Linked DNA regions of Homo sapiens: region 2 is linked to region 1. Evidence: promoter capture Hi-C in 16 types of primary human blood cells and fetal thymus (Javierre and others, 2016). All regions are on one chromosome and are shown on one strand. Each heading gives the region's core, a stretch centred on a gene start or on the middle of the fragment in contact. The rest is flanking DNA. Distances are from core to core; before and after follow the strand shown.

Evidence for each region. Contacts are between HindIII fragments. The CHiCAGO score rates a contact against its expected background, and 5 or more counts as called.
Region 2: a fragment that was not itself captured here is called in contact with the fragment with the promoter of TRMT6 in region 1 in 1 of 17 cell types (M0 macrophages); the score reaches 5.3 in M0 macrophages.

The regions. Positions count from the first base shown.
Region 1 is chr20:5,948,995-5,951,886 of GRCh38, reverse strand. TRMT6 (tRNA methyltransferase 6 non-catalytic subunit) reads left to right here and starts at 1,354. Exons shown (of 11, transcript NM_015939.5): 1 at 1,354-1,609. The coding sequence starts at 1,482. It overlaps MCM8 (minichromosome maintenance 8 homologous recombination repair factor), which reads right to left and starts at 1,235. Exons shown (of 19, transcript NM_032485.6): 1 at 864-1,235. RefSeq lists an enhancer at 1,219-1,358. The HindIII fragment of the contact is 3,685 bases long and covers 1-2,892 here.
Region 2 is chr20:5,187,499-5,190,390 of GRCh38, reverse strand. CDS2 (CDP-diacylglycerol synthase 2) reads right to left here. Exons shown (of 13, transcript NM_003818.4): 11 at 1,205-1,324; 12 at 553-656; 13 at 1-289. The coding sequence ends at 157. Among named protein-coding and RNA genes, the nearest start is that of CDS2, 62 kb to the right of the region's middle. The HindIII fragment of the contact is 2,083 bases long and covers 337-2,419 here.

The sequences.
Region 1 (2,892 bases), core at 105-2,604:
AAGTTGTACAGCTATGATACAAGACCCAAATATTCTGCAGTTAAGTTTCTAATCTCTATCGCTTTTTAAGGTATACCATAATAGTTTAATAACTATTAAATATGGTTTACGTATACTAGACGCTCACAGGTTAAAAATAAGGACAGGTACTGTACCTGTTTACAAGTCCCCATTACAGAAATGAAAATAGGACAGGTAATTAACTCTATGAAAACTTATTTGCAGTATTTGAGACTTCTTATTATAGGGCAGGACAGGATGAACATAATTCTGGCCTGTGAGACACTAGGGATACATCATCATAGCTTCTTACATACAGTCAATCCTGCAGTGTCACATCCATTTTTTGTGCAGTTTTTCTGTAAATCCAAAACTGTTCTTATAAAATACACGTCTACTTAAAAATGATTCATATCCTAAGTATACAAGTAAATAAAGATATACCTGTACGCTGCAGTGCAATTCATTATCAAATACTCTACCCAAATCCTTACTTAAAAGGGGTTTAGTTAATAAAACAAGATAGTAACTAGAAAGTTCACGATTTAACGGCATGACAGGGCTCCAATAATTAGGCATTACACATTATGAAACTGATGCTCAAAGAAATTAAGCAAACCGATCAAGATCAAAGTTGTTTGTCGACAGTACAGAGATAAAACTTTCAGCCTCCCAAGCTGAGGCGCTCCTTCAACAACGCTGCGTGCCATACCCTTCTCAAACGAGACAATATGCTGAGAACAGTAACAAATTCAAAAAAACGTTAAGAAGTAGGACTGGAGAAAGAGTAAAAAGAAACAGTTGGGTACCTGTGCTTCTTCAAATACTACTTTATTTACATCTCCTAAGGCTAAAGTTCTTACTTGCTTGGGACAGAGGTCCCAAAGCTCTCCTAGTTCACAACTGGGCCGGCTCCAGGATACGCGCAGATCTGTCCGGCCGGATTCTCCCTCCCTCCCTCCCGTAGAGAAGCACCACGGGGCTAAGAGTCTCCGGGATCTTAGCTCCTCAGGCGACTCCTGCCAAGTCCGCAGTTCTCTTCAGCCGCAGCTTTCCTGTCGTCCCCGCGCGGTGCTGAACCCCATCTGTCTCAACGGCTCGGGAAACTCAGTTTCCCCACCGCAGCTTCCAGAAGGTGTCTGTAGCGCACAGCGCCGCAAAAATGCCTCAAGCGAAAATCAGGTCTTCCCCTAAATTCTTTTTTGGCGCTTCAGTGATCCAACTTCCGCTCAAAGAAGCGGCAAGACGAGAGGGGCGGGGCGGAGTGCAGCCAATCAAGGAGTTTGGCCAGACGGAAGCCGAGAGGCTTCCGGAAGCGGTCTTGAGGTCTGGGCCGGAAAGCGGAAGCGGCGTGCAACACGTGGGGGCGGTGCCGGTCGGAGGGCTCCTAGTGCGCCAGGTTGTGGGAAGTGAGGCTGGCGGTGGCGACAACCGAGGAGGAGGGGCGGGACGCCGTGGAGCACGGCGACCGGCTGAGCGTCATGGAGGGCTCAGGGGAGCAGCCGGGCCCACAACCACAGCATCCCGGAGACCACCGCATCCGCGACGGCGACTTCGTGGTGCTGAAACGTGAAGATGTGTTTAAAGCAGTACAAGTCCAGCGGAGAAAGTAAGTCAGATCGCTGATTTTAGGGGTCTCCCGCCCCCACCTTGTAGATACCCCCTCCCTCCAGGTTTCTCCACAGAATTCTTCCGCCAGGGTGCCATTCTTGGCTCTCTCGGTCCCCATTCCCCGCCCTCGTTGTCTCCTCGGGTCTTTCTGTCACAGAAGGCTTTTCCACCAGGATCCCGTCTTCGAACCTCATAATCTCCCTTAACCCTCCTGTTTTTCCCGGAGCCCCCTCCATGATTTCATATCTGGCCGTCCACCTTCAGCATCCTTTTCAGTCTTTCCACAGAGTTCCTTCCCCAGAATTCCATTCTTGGCCCTAGGGTGCCAATGCCTCCCTCTCCACACCCTAATCACCTGTCCTGAAGTTCTTTCCCTAGGACCTTGGGATCTTCACTGTCTTTCCAGAGACACCCCCTCCTTTCTTCACTTTAGGATCTCATCCTTGTCTCCAGAGTCTCCTTCAGGTTCCCCCTTTTTTTCCACCATAGATCCTCCTTCTTCCCTAATCCCCCAGTCAGGATCTATCCCACAAAAAATGAAACGTCTCCTACCTAGTCTGGCTTTCTATCCTCTTCTCTACCCAAGCAGGATACACAGAATAGATGAAGGAGACAATTCACCACAGAGTGTGGAATCACTTTGAGTTTCCCTCGTTTTACTCACCAAAGGATTCAACGCTGGGAAAATTGCTAAAAAGCAATTTGCTCAAGGCCTCAGAACTCCAAATTAGGTTTGGTTTGTGCACCTGCTGGCTAGTATCGCTCTGTTTTATAGAAGTAAAGAAGTGGGATTTTGATAACTTTCTGGAAGGGCTGGTGAGGTTGTTAAGTCCTAAGAGCTTATTAATGGTGAAAATTTATTGGGATATTTGGATTAATTTATCTGAGAAATACAACCACAGTGTTTTTGTTTTTGAGACGGAGTCTTGCTTTGTCACCCAGGCTTTAGGGCAGTAGTGCAATCTCGGCTCATTGCAGCCTCTGCCTCCGAGGTTCAAGCGATTCTCCTGCCTCAGCCTCCCTAGTGGCTGGGACTCTGGCACCATCACACTCGGCTAATCTTTTTTTTTTTTTTTTGTATTTTTAGTAGAGACGGGGTTTCACCATGTTGGCCAGGCTGATCTCGAACTCCTGACCTCAGGTGATCCACCCGCCTCGGCCTCCCAAAGTGCTGGGATTACAGGTGTGAGCCACCGCACCTGGCCACAGTTTCTTTTGAGCTAGGTTATTGTATTACTTTTGACAGAGATAAGTTGAATGCAATGTCAGGAGAACAGCTTT
Region 2 (2,892 bases), core at 129-2,628, 760 kb after region 1:
ATTTTTTGAACCCACAAATAAAAAATACCCTCCAAAAAAAAAAAAAAAAGACAGTGAGTTGAAGCCTCGTCATTGTCTAAGTCACACCAGCTGGGCTTGCCTTGGAGACCTGCCCCTGCTCAGTTCTGTTCCTGTTCTCCTGGCCCTGGGTGGCCCCTACTCGTCCTCTGTGGTGGATGTCAGCATCCCTTTGTCGATCAGATGAGACCGCAGCGTGTTGAAGATGTGGAGCTGCTGATCTGGCCGTAAAGTCAGGAACTGCTGAATCAGTTTGCTTGGGTTAGGGCCTCTGGAACAGAATGTGAAGAAACAGCACTGAGCTAGGGCCCGGAAGCTTCCAGGGCCTGATTATCTGAGTGGCTGCTCTGATCTCTGGATCAGAGAGTTATCTATTAACAGATGACAGGAGGCCTCAGAAAATCTGTAAGCAGAAACAACTGAAAACTGCATTATTTGGGATGCTTTTCACTGGAACTTAGATGCCGCTAAAATTCTAGAATTGCACCGTACTTAAAAATCCACCAACTTGGTTCAGATGGAAAGGTACTATACCTGATAAAACTGGCGATGTATACATTGACAAAGGTGGCCATCAGATACTGGCAGTCAAAGCGATCCATGATGCCTCCATGGCCAGGAATGGTATTGGCAAAGTCCTGTTAGAGGCAGGGGAAGGATGGGTGAACTTGGGCTCAGCCACTAACCAATCCCAGCCTAATGGTCCCACCCCAATGTCAGGCTTCTGTGCTGAGTAGCTGAGGGCAATAGAAGGTGAGAAGTATGAAATCTAATGGTGAGGCTATATTAGGACACAATTTTATTGCATTACAAAATGTTCTTATTTCATTTACTTAATAAAGACAGGAGTCTTGCTATGTTGCTCAGGCTACTTTCTAACTCCTAGCCTCAAGTGATCCTCCCGCCTTGGCCTCTTAAAGTGCTGGGGTTACAGACATGAGCCACTGCCTGGCCCAAAATGTTCTTTTGAAGAAAGATATATTAACAAATAAACTGAAAAACAACGATTGCATTTTCCTGAAAATATTGTTATTAATTAACTCACCTAAATTCAGTGCATGGGTCAAGATCACACATTAAATGCCAGGGTGTACAGCCTAGTATTTTGGAGGGGGCAGGGAAGGGGGAGAAAGGCAGAAGATGGGTGAGGGAGTGAGATGAGAGGAACGTAAGACGGTTTTCCTACTTTGATTTTAAAGGCTCGTTTGAATCCACTTGCGAAGAATCCTCCAAAGGGGCCAATGAGCGAGGCAAAGGTGGAGAGAGCGATGCTGTGAATCTGGAAGGGGTACATCCGGACCGTTTTCTGAGAAGAGTAAATGAAGTAAAAGTTTAGGTGCATACATGCCCAGTGTTACGGTTTGAGTTGTCAACTCATGTTGAAATTTGATCCTCATTGTGGCCTCACTGGGAGGTGATGCCTAGTGGGAGGTGTTTGGGTCACAGGGGCAAATCCCTCATGAATGGCTTGGTGCCTTTCTCCTAGTAGTGAGTTCTGTCAAGAGACTAGATTAGCACTGGCATCCCGAGGGAATGGGTTGTTATGAAGTGATGAAGCCCCTGGTTTTGCCTCTTTGCATGTGTCTGCTTCCACCTTTGACCTTCTCCGCCATGTTACAATGCAGCATAAAAAGCCCTCACCAGAAGCCAGGCAGCAGCCAATGCCACACTTCTCACACTTCTCAGCCTGCAGAAAGAAGCTAAGTAAACCTCTTTTCTTTGTAAATTACCCAGCCCCAAGTGTTCTATCAACACTAGACAGACCAAGACATCCAACCTCGTAACTCTTTATGAAACTAATTATATACATGTAGGTTTTAAATCAATAAGAGGAGTGAATTTTTCCCATTTTGTAAATTTCTAATATCTAAGTTAATGGAAAACATTAAAATATTCTGCATTCAATCTGTTGCAACATGCTGTTTTGGTGGAAGTATATAAAGAAAATCCAGCCGTACGCAGATACATAGTTGAAAAGAGTATTTTAGTCGTAGCCTCAGATGGTTTTGGGTATTCTCTGACACTACACCAGAGCTTGACAAGTAGTCATTTCTTGAATATTAGGTGTGATATGGAATCTAGAATTCTATCAATGGACTTTGTTCTCTCTTACATTAAAATCCATTGGTCTATCTTATACTTGAACGGATCTTTTACCCATGCATGACTATATAACACCATGCATCAGCCATTTAGAAAATAATGGTTCACTGAGTTATGTAAATCTTCCAAATGTAGACACATTTCATTATACCGTGTCAAATATGTTTGTGTTTTTTCTCATGTGATCAACACACACACACACACACACACACACGTACGTTAAGAATCATCACAGACCTCATCAGAAAAGGCTTTTAAGTATTAGGAAGCTGTCAAGTTCACAGTGGCAGGTTAAGCTTTCCAAAATTCTAATTTTCATTTGAAAGCCAAATTTTATCCTTGGTAACAATTACTGTCAGTCATTTTTCTTTTCTTTTTTTTTTTTTTTTTGAGACAGTCTCACTCTGTCACCCAGGCTGGAGTGCAGTGGTGCGATCTTGGCTCACTGCATCCTCCGCCTCCTGGGTTCAAGCAACTCAACCTCCTGAGTAGCTGGTAGCTGGGATTACAGGCACACGCCACCATCCCCAGCTATATTTTTTTGTATTTTTAGTAAAGACGGGGTTTCGCCATGTTACCCAGGCTGGTCTGGAACTCCTGACCTCAAGAGATCTGCCTGCCTCGGCCTTCCAAAGTGCTGGGATTTCAGGTGTGAGCCACTGTGCCTAGCCTCAGTTGTTTTCTTTAAAGTGATAGGCTCACTTCATCCTTTTCAAGAAAAATGTCTGCCAAATACCCAAGTCTGAAAAATTATAATTTGTTGGTTCTTTC